Regions from separate parts of the Homo sapiens genome. Here region 2 is linked to region 1. Evidence: promoter capture Hi-C in human tissues and cell types (Jung and others, 2019). All regions are on one chromosome and are shown on one strand. The core of a region is centred on a gene start or on the middle of the fragment in contact, and the rest is flanking DNA. Distances in the headings are between cores, read along the strand shown.

Region 1 (7,727 bases), core at 3,407-5,906:
CAAGGGAGGCTGAAAAACAACAGGATAGTCTTGAGTAGCTTATACCAGTAATTTGCCTTCCCTGGGACTAGGCACACTATTTGTTGACTCTTAACAGGTTTGGGGTTCTTTTAAAGAAGAAGAAGAAATTGAATATTTATTGGCTAGGCCACTGAAATGGGTCTATCACACAATATCTGTAACACAAAGCATTAGAAAGTATAGGAGTGAATGAGTGTGGGGATATTTCTCCCAGTATACTGTTTATAATGCTGTCTTGAATGCTTTCACAGAAAAATGTTCAGCTGTTCACTTCCATTCCTTTCAAACCCTGATTATTGTGAACACATTTCTTCGAAGCCAACTGTATTCCTTCCTTTGCCATTTCCCTTGTTTCAGTTTCTCAACCCAGGGAATAAATATTGTGAAGGAAGCATTTTTTCTCCCTCAAAATGTTGTCCTACCAACTTGTCAGTCTGAATTTCCTCTGTTGGTCTTTCCACCAACTGACTGACTCTTATTGCCCTCTATCTGAATCCTCCTTGCATCCACCCTGCCTTACAGATGCATGTTATATATACCAGCTAGTTGAAAGACTCATAATTTACTTCTGGTACTCTACTAACTTTCCCTTTTTCTCTTTCTCCTCCTCTTTTTCCTCTCCTTCTCTTGTGTTCCCCTCCTCTCCGTTGCTGCTGCAGAGCGTCTCTACAGCCAACTTGAGCGAAACCGCCTGCTTTCTAATGAGCTGAAGCTAACGCTGCATGATCTGTGTGACTGATGGGCAGGGCTCAATGATGCCCATTAAACTGAGCTTACTGCTCACACCACTGACCTGGACCCCAACAAAAAGCTGATTGTCTTTTTAAAAGTTATTATTTTGCCCTGAGCAAATTGCATTTTAATTGGGGCAGTTAGAATGTTGATTTCCTAACAGCATTGTGAAGTTGACCATTGTGAAGTTTCTGTCCCTTTAGAAGAGATTATGGGTGAAGAAGGGAGGGGCCTGAGAGATTATAGTGAGAAAACTTGCGAGAATTTTGTTTTCCACCCTTATTTGCTGCTCTTTCACTTGGGCACTGACTGTAGGATATGTTCCCTTGCATGGATGTTTTTAACAATAAAAGGACTGACTTGACAAGTTGTTGTAACTGCTTCATCGGCAGGCCCAGGAATGGGTCCTTCTGACTGGGTGGAAAAAAGGGAAGTGAAAGAAAAGTTGTGGGATATGAATATGGGTCTGTGTTGCCATCACCTTCTCTGAGTTGAAGATTTGAGTATTTTCCTCACCTCTTTAGAGCAGTCAGAGTGGTTTGCTTGCTAGACAGATTAGATTCTCCTTAATGTTCAGCTGCTGATTTTCTTTCTGACTTTTGCGTCCTTTTTCTGGTTTTATGTTAATTTCAAGTAACTGTCACAAGCTAGTTCTGTTCAATAGCTCTGCAGCAATCTCAAGGTTTGCTTACAACTACTTGTTTCAGTAGTATTCTTGGCTTTGTTTTCTTTAGAGATTATTTGACTTAACTGTGAGCGCCCTTTTATTTATCCCATCAGTTATTACTTTGGCCTCTACTTTTTCGAAAAAACATGTAGTGCATGAGGATCTTCCTGTGCTCTTTATAATCTGAGATTCTGATGTTTCTATTGTTTGCAATGTTCAAACTCCGGTGAGCCATTTCAAGAGGGTATTGTTATGTGGGCAAAACCTAGAAAAGTGGATGGCTGATGGTTAAGGCTTGCTCTTTCATTGACTGAAAGCTGAAAGTGTTGGTTGGGTGTGGGAGGGAGAGGAAATGGCTGATAAGGGCCCTAACTCCCTCACCCAGGAAGTGCAGCAACACCTACAACTTCAGTAGGCAAGCCAAAGGCCCTACAAAACTGGGTGATGTAATAGCTCACTTCTGTGGCTGAGAAGGCAGCTGCTTTATCAGTCTGCAGCTTCTCTGCAACAGGAGCAAGTCTCAAAGAGCGGGTAGACCTTGAAATTTACTTCTAGTTCTTGTAACTTCTCTCCTTTACCCCCATTAGATAAACTGAAATGCACCAAAGAGGAGCACCTCTGTACACAAAGGATGCTGGACCAGACCCTGCTTGACCTGAATGAGATGTAGAACGCCCCAGTCCCACCCTGCTGCTGCTCCTCCCTCTGACCCAGACTCCGCCTGAGGCCAGCCTGCGGGAAGCTGACCTTTAACTGAGGGCTGATCTTTAACTGGAAGGCTGCTTTCTCCTTTCACCACCCCCTCCTTCCCTGTGTCTTTTTCGCCAAACTGTCTCTGCCTCTTCCCGGAGAATCCAGCTGGGCTAGAGGCTGAGCACCTTTGGAAACAACATTTAAGGGAATGTGAGCACAATGCATAATGTCTTTAAAAAGCATGTTGTGATGTACACATTTTGTAATTACCTTTTTTGTTGTTTTGTAGCAACCATTTGTAAAACATTCCAAATAATTCCACAGTCCTGAAGCAGCAATCGAATCCCTTTCTCACTTTTGGAAGGTGACTTTTCACCTTAATGCATATTCCCCTCTCCATAGAGGAGAGGAAAAGGTGTAGGCCTGCCTTACCGAGAGCCAAACAGAGCCCAGGGAGACTCCGCTGTGGGAAACCTCATTGTTCTGTACAAAGTACTAGCTAAACCAGAAAGGTGATTCCAGGAGGAGTTAGCCAAACAACAACAAAAACAAAAAATGTGCTGTTCAAGTTTTCAGCTTTAAGATATCTTTGGATAATGTTATTTCTATTTTTTATTTTTTTCATTAGAAGTTACCAAATTAAGATGGTAAGACCTCTGAGACCAAAATTTTGTCCCATCTCTACCCCCTCACAACTGCTTACAGAATGGATCATGTCCCCCTTATGTTGAGGTGACCACTTAATTGCTTTCCTGCCTCCTTGAAAGAAAGAAAGAAAGAAGACTGTGTTTTTGCCACTGATTTAGCCATGTGAAACTCATCTCATTACCCTTTTCTGGGTTTGAAGCTGCTGTCTCTAGAAGTGCCATCTCAATTGTGCTTTGTATCAGTCAGTGCTGGAGAAATCTTGAATAGCTTATGTACAAAACTTTTTAAATTTTATATTATTTTGAAACTTTGCTTTGGGTTTGTGGCACCCTGGCCACCCCATCTGGCTGTGACAGCCTCTGCAGTCCGTGGGCTGGCAGTTTGTTGATCTTTTAAGTTTCCTTCCCTACCCAGTCCCCATTTTCTGGTAAGGTTTCTAGGAGGTCTGTTAGGTGTACATCCTGCAGCTTATTGGCTTAAAATGTACTCTCCTTTTATGTGGTCTCTTTGGGGCCGATTGGGAGAAAGAGAAATCAATAGTGCAACTGTTTTGATACTGAATATTGACAAGTGTCTTTTTGAAATAAAGAACCAGTCCCTCCAACCCTCAGACCTATTTGACTTTTATTTATTAAAACTAAATGTGCTTTCTCCACAGAAGCTATGAGGTTTGGGTTAAAAATAGCATCTTTGTGGGTGGTAGCAACAGGATTTATTCTTTATTATTATTATTTTTGAGATGAAGTTTCATTCTTGTTGCCTGGGCTGGAGCGTAATGGCTCGATCTCGGCTCACTGCAACCTCCGCCTCCTGGTTCAAGAGATTCTCCTGCCTCAGCCTCCCGAGTAGCTGGGATTACAGGCACCTGCCACCATGCCCGGGTAATTTTTTATATTTTAAGTAGAGACAGGGCTTCACCATGTTGGCCAGGCTGGTCTCGAACTCCTGACCTTCAGGTGATCCACCTGCCTCAGCTTCCCAAAATGCTGGGATTACGGGCGTGAGCCACCGCACCCAGCTGGAGCAACAGGATTTAATATAGAGCAAATGTTTAGTTTTATCATCTGTAAAATGGAGATAAGTATTGTCAGAGTAAACATGAAGATTAGAAAGAACACTTAATGTGCTGGGCCTTTTATAGGTTAACACTGACATCTCAGGCTGAACTATATACATTTTCCTTCACAACCATATCAATCCTTATAAACTATGGATTTATGCTCCTTAAAACAATATATAATGCTGATCACTACTATAAATGCGTGGTTTTAACCAACTGTACTGAAACAGCTTTGAGTTTATATTCTGTTTGGATATTTGGAGAAAACAACAAGTGCTCTCAAGAGTATTTGCTTAGAGGCCGGCTGTGTGAGTGGATAACTTTGAAAGCTGCTTTTGAGACGCCAGTGTCTGGCATTTCCTGCATTCTGGCCTGGAGGCCGGACGTGAATCTGACTTCTAGTAAAAATACACGGTTCCCTTGACAAAGTCGAGCTGTTTATCCCAGAGACTGCACAATTTTCCGTTGATAGGCATGGACCAATGCTAACTGGAAATCATTGCAAAAAGTTTTTTTGTCGGGCGGAGGGTGTGGTGTTAAGATAAACAGTGTGCAACAGAAGAAATTAAAACTGGAAGAAATTAAAGGGTTTTTTTTAGACTTTTCTGCTTGTTCCTTACTGTTAAAAAGGTCTGCCATCCAGTATTTAGGAAAGCCCTTTAAGAGAGTTTGAGGTGTTTTAGCTGGGTTTGTGCCAAAAGTTTCCATTATATTGGCTTGCTGAAGGACTGCATTTAAAAATGCCCACACATCCGAGCAAGAAGCAGGTCCCATCCCCCTCTGCTGACGTCACGCCTGTGGATTGGCTGATGGAGCTGTGAGCCGGCTGTAGTTGAGCGGGAACCCGAGACCTGGCAGTCGCCATGACTGGCTGTCCGGCGTCATCAAGACGCCGAGGCTTCGGGCTCTTTTTCTTCTTGCGTCTACACCGCCTCCTGTTGTTGTTTCTGGTTTTGCGTGGGACCCTGGCCAACAAACTTAACGTGCCACAGGTGTTGCTACCCTTCGGCCGAGAGCCAGGCCGGGTGCCTTTCCTGCTGGAGGCCCAGCGGGGCTGCTACACTTGGTGAGGGGTGGTGGGTGACAAGGATATGCACCCTCACTACCATCCAGTAAGGGTGAGGGGGGTTCCCTCTGTAAGATCCCACAGGAATACCGTGTGGGGCCGCGTGAAGGGGCCTAGCCGGTAGGGGAGGAGAGTGTGGTGTCAGTGAAGGTGGCGAGGAGCAGACCCTTGGGTGTGGCGTGTCCTACTCATGTGGTATATCCTCCAGCTGTGTGACAATCTTCCAGACGTGTGAGGAATTCTCGGGATGTGGGACTGGCCTCTTCTCTGTGTGTGTTGGGAAGGGGTGGTCACTATGAGCAGCCGTCAGGGTAAAGGGAAGCCCTGTGTTGGAGGCCACAGGTACTGATGACTTCCAATGTAAACAACTAGAGTAAGAGGAAGTTCCCCATATCTGAGGAAATTTCTGTAGGAACAGGAAAACTTGGGGTGCGAGGGTCCCCACTAACTATAGATGAGCTATTCAATGTGAGAAGGACTTAAAACACAACAGCCAAGTATTGGGGGTTAACTAAGCACTTTACATGTGTTAACTCATTCGCTTTTTGCAGTCTTATGAAGTAAGTACTATTACTCCCATTTCACAGACGAGGAAAGTGAGGCCCAGAGACTATGAAGTGTAAACTTCTGGGAATATGAGAAGATTTATCGTGGGTGGAGATGAGATCTGTCTGTATTATCAAAATTGCCCCATTTATAAAAGGGTACCCGCTTGAAGTGTGAGGACAGGGGGTACACACAACTCCGGGATAATGACTTCCTGACTGAAGATGAAGAGACATGATTTTCTGGTGTGAGAGGACCCAATGATGGGTTATGTGGTTGCCTAAGGTATGAGAGAACCTAACCGAAGTGAGCTTCAGGATGCCAGTGCATTCATCCTAGATGGAGTAGATACCCCTTTGCCATCTCCTAGGAGAAGCAATGAGGTTTGTTCCGAGTATAAATTCACCTCTCATTTTATGAGGAAGTATAAGGAAAGTGAGCTTGTAAGATGATCCAGTGTGACGTGTGTGTTTCCTGACCGTGAGGGTGATGCAAGGCATCTTTCCAGCATTGAAAGCCATTTCTTCTATCACTCCAAAAATATTAATGAGGCCAGGCATGGTGGCTCACGCCTGTAATCCCAGCACTTTGGGAGGCCAAGGCAGGAGGATTACTTGAGGCCAGGAGTTTGAGACCAGCCGGATCAACATAGTGAGACCCCGTCTCTATTTAAAATAAAAACATTCGGCCGGGCGCAGTGGCTCACGCCTGTAATCCCAGCACTTTGGGAGGCCGGGGCAGGCAGATCACTTGAAGTCAGGAGTTCAAGACCAGCCTGGCCAACATGATGAAAGCCCATCCCTACTAAAAATACAAAAATTAGTCGGGCATAGTGGCAGACACCTGTAATCTCAGCTACTCGAGAGGCTGAGGCAGGAGAATCGCTTGAACCCTGGAGGCGAATGTTGCAGTGAGCTGAGATCGCCCTGCTGCACTTCAGCTTGGGCAACAAAGTGACTCGGTCTCAAAAACATAATAATAAATAAGAATAAAAATATTTATGAATGTTTTTGGTATTTTGAGTTGGACTCACACCTCATAATTTAGGCACCTTTTCCATCCTAGATATCAGAAGCCTGGTTTCTAGGATTGAAGGAAACTTTCCTCAGAGTATGAGAAAGTCCCCTCTCATTACTAGAAACACATCAGTCGTATTTCTGCATACTGAGGGAAGAATATAAAAATCTTTTAAAAAAAATTGAGGGAGGGATATTTCTGGGACTTTGTTCAAGGGATCATTGGGAAAGTTCTCATCAATCTCTCAGTTTAATTATCGCATCCCTAAGCAATGTTCCTTCTTTAAAAAGTGTCATTTACATATACCTGGTAGTATGTAACATGGAAGAAGTGTGAGAATCTATGTTCCACTAAAAGTTAATTTTAACCCACCTATTTCACACTCTTAAGAATTTTGTTCTGGCAGGCATTCCACCCATCATGATGCAGTTACTGTTGAGCCTTTATATGAAAATGGCACCTTGTGTTCCCAAAAAGCTGTACTCATTGCTGAATCTACGCAACCGATACGCCTCAGCAGTATTATTCTTGCTCGAGAAATAGGTATGTTGAGAGCAAAAACACTATGTATCACTTCTTCTGGGGTAGAATAATCTGGTATTTTGTATAGATAGTTAACACAAATGGTGTTGGCTTCAAATGATCAAAGGGAGAATAAATGATTCCTAGCTGGCTGCAGTGGCTCACGCCTTTAATCCCAGCACTTTGGGAGGCTGAGGCAGAAAGATTGCTTGAGCTCAGGAGTTTAAGAACAGTCTGGGTAACAGAGTGAGACCTATCTCTACAAAAAAAAAAAAAAAATTATGGCTGGGGGCGGTGGCTCGCGCCTGTAATCCCCCCACTTTGGGAGGCCGAGGTGGGTGGATCACCTGAGGTGGGGAATTTGAGACCAGCCTGGCCAACATGGTAAAACCTCGTCTCTACTAAAAATACAAAAAAATTAGCCGGGCGTGGTGGCGCACACCTGTAGTCCCAGCTACTCAGGGAGGCTGAGGCAGGAGAATCGCTTGAACCCGGGAGACACAGGTTGCAGTGAGCCAAGATTGTGCCACTGCACTCCAGCGGGGCGACAGAGGGAGTCTCCATCTCAATAAAACAAAATAAAATAAAATAAAATAAAATAAAAATGAAGAGTATTAGGCAGGATTTTCATTTTTTCTTTCTTTCTTTCTTTTTTTTTTTTTTTTTGAGACGGAGTTTCGCTTTTGTTGCCCAGGCTGGAGTGCAGTGGCGTGATCTTGGCTCACTGTAACCTCTGTCTCCCAGGTTCAAGCGAT
Region 2 (7,727 bases), core at 3,047-5,546, 110 kb after region 1:
ATTACTCATTGTGACTGGTTGTCCCACTTTCCTCAGGTTTTCTTCCTCCATCTTTGACAGCTTCTTGATCTGTCCCCGGGTAGGTGGCTGTGTTCGACGGGTGTTGCTCATGACAGTTGGGGTCCTCCTCAGCATCAGTCTTGACATGGCTGCAACCAGGGGATCCTCGGGTTTCTCCCAGAATCTCTTCTTCAGCATCTGGCTCATGATAAGGTTTCAGGTGTCGTGATGGTATCCAAATCGGCTGTTGATTTGGTCCAGGAGAAACACAAGCATAACCTCTACCCCAAGTTATTATTTTACCTATTTCCCAACTTTTTGCTAACGGATCTCACTACCAAACCAATTGTTCTGCTTCTGTCTTTGCAGCTGGTTTCTGTAGATGCTGTTCAGCTGCTGATAGCATCTGGCCTTTAGGCAGGCTCAAAAAATTTAAAGTCAATAATGCTAGATTCAGTTGCATACGGGGGTCCCGTAGTCCCTGTTTCTCCCCTTTTGCTTTTGCAACTGCTATTTTAGGGAGAGGTTCATTCTTTCCACTATGGCTTGTCCTTGAGAATTATATGGGATACCAGTAATGTGTTTAATATTCCATATAGAGAAAAATGTAGCTAGAGCTTGGCTACTATAGCCTGGGGCATTATCTGTTTTAATAGAAGCTGGAATGCCCATCACCAGGAAACACTGCAAAAGGTGATGTTTAACAGAGGCAGAAGACTCTCTTGATTGGCCTGTAGCCCAGACAAAGTGAGAAAAGGTGTCCACACATACATGTACATAAGCTAGTCTCCCAAATGAGGGAACATGTGTGACATCCATTTTCCAAAGAGAATTAGTTTTCAATCCTTGAGGATTAACTCCTGCTGTAAAAGATGAGAAATGTACCATCTGGCAAGTTGGGCATCGCTGGATAATAGTTTTAGCTTCTTTCCAGGTAATGCTGTATCTGCGCTTTGTGACCAGAGACATTAACATGGGTTAAATTGTGAAAGTGTCGGCCAGGCACAGTGGCTCACACCTGTAATCCCGGCACTTTGGGAGGCTGAGGCAGTTGGATAACGAGGTCAGGAGATCGAGACCATCATGGCTAACACAGTGAAACCCCATCTCTACTAAAAATAAAAATAAAAAAATTAGCTGGGTGTGGTAGCGGGTGCCTGTAGTCCCAGCTACTTGGGAGGCTGAGGCAGGAGAATGGCGTGAACCCAGGAGGCAGAGCTTACAGTGAGCCAAGATCACGCCACTGCACTCCAGCCTGGGCAACAGAGCAAGACTCCATCTCAAAAAAAAAATTGTGAAAATGTCTAGCATTATATATTGTAGTAGCAACTAGGCAATCAGCCATTTGATTCCCTTCAGTTAAAGGTCCTGGAAGAGTTACATGAGCCCTAATGTGAGTGATGTAAAAAGGGTGCATTCTACTCCTAACTGCTATTTGCAATTGGGTAAATAAAGTCATCAGTTGCTCATCAGTGTGGAATTGTAGCTGAGCATTTTCAACTAACTGTGTAGAATGTACCCCATATGAAGAATTGGAACTCACATTAATAGGCATATCAAAAGCAGTCAATACCTCAATTACAGCTACAAGCTCTGCTTTTTGAGCTGAAGTATAGGGCATCTGAAAAACTTTACCTTTTGAGCCAGAATAAGAAGCTTTACCATTATTAGACCCAACTGTGAAGACATTTTCAGCATCTTCAATTGGTTTAAATTTAATTATTTTAGGGAGAATCCAATTAGTTAATTTCAAAAATTGAAATAATTTTGTTTCAGGAAAATGATTATTGAGAATACCCACAAAATCAGCTAAATGGATTTGCCAAGAAAGACTATTTATAAAAGCTTGCTGTATTTATGCCTTCGTGAGAGGGACAATAATTTTTCTGGGATCATATCCATGTAATTTGACAATCTGAGTTCTCCCATTTCCTATCATAGGTAGCAATTTGATCCAAATAAGGAGTTAGAGTCTGTGAATTAGTATGTGGAAGAAAAAAACATTCTACTAAGTCCTGCTCTTGGACAATAACACCAGTAGGTGAATGCTGAATTGAAAACATTAGCAAATCTGGAGTCTTCTCTGGATCTATTCTATCTTTTGAGCTTTATGGACTTGCTTTTCAATCAGCTGTAACTCTGCCTCAGCCTCCTTTGTTAATTGTCGAGGGCTAGTGAGACTAGGATCTCCTCTAAGGATAGAAAATAGATTACTCATGGCAAGGTAGGAATGCCTAGAGCAGGTCATATCCAATTAATGTCCCCTAGTAATTTTTGAAAGTCATTTAATGTTTTCAATTGATCCCTACATATGGTTACTTTCTGTGGCACTATTGTAGTGTCACTTACTAAGGTTCCTAAGTAGGAGTAAGGAGTAGTAGTCTGAATTTTGTCAGGAGCTATAATTAAACCAGTGCAAGAAATCGAATTTTGTAAATGATCATAATATTGGGGTAATATTTCTCGAGTGGGGGCAGCACAAAGTATATCGTCCATATAAGGAATAATGTAATACTGTGAAAATTTTTTATGAGTAGGTTCAATTGCTTGCCCTACATACTTCTGGCAAATTGCTGGACTGTTTAACATGCCTTCTGGCAACACTTTCCGATGAAAACGCTTAGCAGGCTTCAGGTTGTTTACTGCAGGAATTGTAAATGCAAACCATTCACAGTCTTGCTAAGCTAAGGGGATAGTAAAGAAACAGTCTTTTAAATCTATGACATTAAAGGCCAGTTTTTTGGAATCATAGCAGGAGAAGGCAGTCCTGGCTGTAATGCCCCCATAGGTTGTATAACTGAATTAATGACTCTAAGATCTGTCAGCATTCTCCATTTACCTGATTTTTTCTTAATAACAAAGACTGGAGAATTCCAAGGGGAAAATGCTGGAGCTATGTGTCCTTTTTCTAATTGTTCAGTAACTAAGTCCTCTAAAGCCTCCAGTTTCTCTTTACTTAACGGCCATTGTTCTATCCAAATTGGCTTGTCTGTTAACCATTTTAAAGCTATAGATTCTGGAGGCTTAACAATGGCTGCCATCAAAAATGATATCCTAAACCCTTGGCAGGAACTTTTCTTTCTGTTTGAAGCGGTTCCTTCAAACCCTGCAAGTATTTTTCTAGTCCCATACTAGGGACGTACCCTATTTCATGCATCATATGTTGACTTTGAGGGGTATATAATTGCTCTGGAATTAGAACTTGTGCTCCCCATTGTTGTAATAAATCTCTTCTCCATAAATTTAAGGGTACAGAAGTTATAATTGGTTGAATAGTCCCAGGTTGTCCATTGGGCCCTTCACAATGCAAAATATAACTACTTTGATATACTTCAGGGGCTTTACCAACTCCAACTATGTTAAATTGAGCGGGTTGAATTGGCCACACAGATGGCCAGTGCTGTAGAGAAATGATTGAAATGTCCACTCCTGTATCTACCAAACCTTTAAATTTCTTTCCCTGAATAGTTATTTCACAGGGAGGATGTTTATCAGTAGTTTGATTCACCCAGTAAGCTGCTTTGCTTTGTTTATTTGTGCTCCCAAATCCTCTTGTTTTTCACTTTTCCCCATTTCCACATACAGCACAATCAGGAGCCGTGCTATACGCTCTCCTGGCTCTGCTTTCCAGGGAACAGAAGTAGATATAACAATTTGAATTTCCCCACTGTAATATGAATCAAGGACTCCTGTATGTACTTGCACTCCTTTTAAATTTAAACTAGATCTACCTAGAAGTAATCCTATCATCCCCGCTGGCAAGGGTCCACAGACTCCCGTAGGTACTTTTTGCTGGGGCTCCCCAGGCAGAAGACTCACAGCTTTTGTGCAGCATAAATCTACTGCGGCATTACCAGCTGTGGTGGGGGACAGACATTGTACAGGGGTGAGGGAGTGGCCTGAGCCAGAAATGCCCTGGTTTGGAACAGGGCCCAGGATAGGCCCCTCATGGCATTTCCCAAAATCGGTTTCCCATCTTTATCAAACTTAGAGTGACACTGATTAGTCCAATGTTTTCCTTTTTTACACTTCGGGCATACACCTGGCTCATACTGATTAATGGCCTGTTTAAACTCTTTAAGTATTTTAAAAGGAAAAAGCTCAAACATAGCTATAATATTTCCTTGTTGATCTGGGGGGTGTATCCTAACAGGGAACTGCCAAGCCTCTATATCACCCTCTCTTCTAGCTTGCTGGATTCCTGCCTGAATAGAACTGAGAGCGGTTGCTTGAGGCGCTACTTGAACAGTCACTGGGGCAACTACTTTTTGCCCAGTGTCCTCTGGAAAAGAAAGATCTGGAGGGTCAGGCCACTCTTTTTCTTCAAAATAAGGAGGGGGTGCAGAAGGGTAGGGATGAACCTCTTCCTCTTTGCCACTTTAGCTTTAGCTGGCAAACAAACCTGCTCTTTCACCTCTTCTGTTATTTCGATATACTTTCCTTCCTCCACATCATCAGTGTGAAAATGTTCCAAGGTGGAACAAACTAGAGCCCACACTTGTTCCATTGTTACCCTGATGCTTCCAAGCTCCCCTTCTTACTCACCACAGGGATTGCTTAAGAGTACTCAGGTGTCCTCCAGCTTAGTTCCACATTCTCCAACCGTCGCTCCAATGACCCTTTGACCCAGGTTGGAGCCCCACGTATGGGCACCACTTACCGAGATCAGCTCAGTCGTGGAGACCCTAACCCAGTGGCACTAGAGGAATTAAAGACACACACACAGAAATATAGAGTGTGGAGTGGGAAATCAGGGGGCTCACAGCCTTCAGAGCTGAGAGCCATGAACAGAGATTTACCCACATATTTATTGACAGCAAGCCAGTGATAAGCATTGGTTCTATAGATTATAGATTAACTAAAAGCATTCCTTACATGAAACAAAGGGATGGGCTTTGGCTAGTTATCTGCAGCAGGAACATGTCCTTAAGGCACAGATTGCTCATGCTATTGTTTGTGGCTTAGGAACGCCTTAGGCAGTTTTCCACCCTGAGTGGGCCAGGTGTTCCTTGTCCTCATTCTGGTAAACCCACAACCTTCAGCGTGGGCATCATGGCCATAACGAACATGTCACAGTGCTGCAGAGATTTTGTTTATGGCCATTTTTGGGGCCAGTTTATGGCCAGATTTGGGGGCCTGTTCCCAACAGTATATGAGTTATTTTGATATAGGCATACAATGCATATTAACTACATCAGGGTAAATGGGGTATCCACCACCTCAAGCATTTATCCTTTCTGTGTTACAGACAATCCAATTATACTCTTTTAGTTATTTTTAAATAAACAATAACTTATTGTTGACTGTAGTCACCCTGCTGTGCTATCAAATACTAGCCCTTTTTCATTCTAACTATATTTTTCTGCCCATTAATCATCCCCATAGCCCCCCTACCCACCCACTGCCCTTCCCAGCCTCTGGTAACCATTGTTCTACTTTTTTGTTTGTTTTGAGTCGGAGTTTCGCTCTTGTTGCCCAGGCTGGAGTGCGATGGCATGATCTCGGCTCACTGCAACCTCCGCCTCCCGGATTCAAACGACTCTCCTGCCTCAGCCTCCCAAGTAGCTAAGACTACAGGCACATGCCACCACACCCAGCTAATTTTGTATTTTCAGTAGAAATGGGTTTCACCATGTTGGTCAGGCTGGTCTTGAACTCCTAACCTCAAGTGATCCACCCGGCCTCCCAAAGTGCTGGGATTACAGGCGTGAGCCACCGTGCACAGCCCATCATTCTATTCTTTATCTCCATGAGTTCAACTGTTTTAATTTTTAGCTCCCATAAATATATAAGTGAGAACATGGGAAGTTTATCTTTGTCTTTCTATGCCTGGCTTATTTCACTTGACATAATGATCTCTAGTTCCATCCATGTTGTTGCAAATGACAGGATCTCATTCTTTTTATGGCTGAATAGTACTCTGTTGTACATATGTACCACATTTTCTTTATCCATTTGTTTGTTGATGGACACTTAGGTTGGCTCCAAATATTGGCTATTGTGAATAGTGCTGCAATAAGCATGGGCAAGGTTTTTTACTGAATGTTAAAAACAATAGCAAACTAGTTATCAAAAGCATCTCTGTCCACCCCACAGAAACTCCCTCTTAGCCTAAGCTTGCTCTCCACCCTGTTGAGCAGGATGAAGTACAGATTGAAGTTGTTCAGCTAAGGGCTGTTAGGATCCTTGCAGCTGCAACTCGGCTCATCACAGCTACCAAGGTCAGTATGATGGCTCTGTTCAGGGCTCATTATTCTGATAATTGCAACTGGGCAGAATATATAGCACAATGCTGCTATTTATTTTCAGATGCCAGTTTATGTCATGGGAGTAACCAGTACCCAGACCCCTTTCTCCTTCAGCAATGCTAATCCTGGGCTCACATTCCACTGGTCTATGAGCAAAAGGGATGTATTGGATCTAGTGCCCAGGCATTCAGAGGTAAGAATTTGCCTGTTTATTGTGTTATCTTAGGGATCTTGATATTAAATTTATTTTAATTTATCATAAGTTTCTTTTTGTTTTGAGATGAGGTCTCACTCTGTCCCCCAGGCTGGAGTGCAGTGGTGCAATCTCAGCTCACTGCAACCTCCACCTCCTAGGCTAAAGTGATCCTCCCACCTCAGCCTCCCGAGTAGCTGGGACCACAGGCACATGCCATCATGCCTGGCTAATTTTTTGTACTTTTTTGTTGAGATGGGGTTTTTGCCTTGTTGCCCAGGCTGTTCTTGAGCTCCTGAGCTTAGGTGATCCACCCACTGTGACCTCCCGAAGTGCTGGGATTACAGGCGTGAGCCACCATGCTCATCCTATCATAAGTTTTAGACTGATTACTCACTCCCTAAACTACACAATATTATTACTTATTTACTTTTCCTACTGTTCTCTGAACTCTGAACTCTGGAAACCTGCAAAGCAATAAAGAATCCAAATTTGAGTATGCAGATAATACTGTATGATTATTTATTTTTATTTTTTGCTGGAAAGAGCTCTCAAAAGTGATCTTTCTTTTAATATTGTATTTATTAATGTTGTTGTAATGTTGTATTTGTGAGCAGATGACTATGTTAGATGAGTAACACTATGAATATAAAGTATATGCATAAAGTATAAAAAATAAATATACAATTTTTATTTTTTATCATGTTCAGACACACATTTGATTATATTCATAATCATGGTTGTGCTACATGCTGGGTGATTACATTAATAGTAAGAAAAGCAAATATAGAGGGCTGTAGGTGGCATTGCTTTGTTTAGCATGCTCCCAGCCCACCCTACTTGGAATTGGGGAAGAACTGGATTCCCATGTCAGGCACCATGGGTACCACGGAGCTGTAGTCGCCTATCAACTGGGCAGCTGATTCTGGACTGGGTGTCTTATATCAACGACAAGTTTAAGAACAGTGATTAATTAAACTGCCCCTCCATGGTTCCCTTTGGTATCTGGTGGTATTGGCTCCTCCCAATTCACTACCTGCTGTATCTGGAACCATAGAAGACCTCAGGATAGACATCTAGGATATCCACAGTTCAACTTGAGAGTATATTTCTCTGAAAAAAAGCTTTGATGTTTTGATGCATATAGTATTAAACCTCACACTGAAACCTGAAAAAGACAAAAAAAAAGCAAGTTTGGCAGAAACTATGTAAAGTTTGCTGCCGACAAATTTTACCTAAATGAAACTCACCCAAGGTGGTCTGAGTACAGTGGCAACCAGCTACAT

What was found. The method cuts DNA at HindIII sites, captures the fragments that hold promoters and counts their contacts. A contact is called where the count stands out against the background at its distance.
Region 2: a fragment that was not itself captured here is called in contact with the fragment with the promoter of NUP210L in region 1 in 2 of the 25 tissues and cell types used here (bladder and liver).

What each region holds. Positions count from the first base shown.
Region 1 is chr1:154,152,002-154,159,728 of GRCh38, reverse strand. It overlaps NUP210L (nucleoporin 210 like), which reads left to right and starts at 4,656. Exons shown (of 40, transcript NM_207308.3): 1 at 4,656-4,887; 2 at 6,857-6,993. The coding sequence starts at 4,685. It also overlaps a transcript of TPM3 not described here. RefSeq lists a silencer at 3,538-3,715 and enhancers at 4,322-4,822, 4,823-5,323. The HindIII fragment of the contact is 16,458 bases long and covers 1-7,727 here.
Region 2 is chr1:154,044,783-154,052,509 of GRCh38, reverse strand. NUP210L (nucleoporin 210 like) reads left to right here. Exons shown (of 40, transcript NM_207308.3): 26 at 6,141-6,221; 27 at 6,310-6,441. Among named protein-coding and RNA genes, the nearest start is that of MIR5698, 56 kb to the left of the region's middle. The HindIII fragment of the contact is 5,090 bases long and covers 1,752-6,841 here.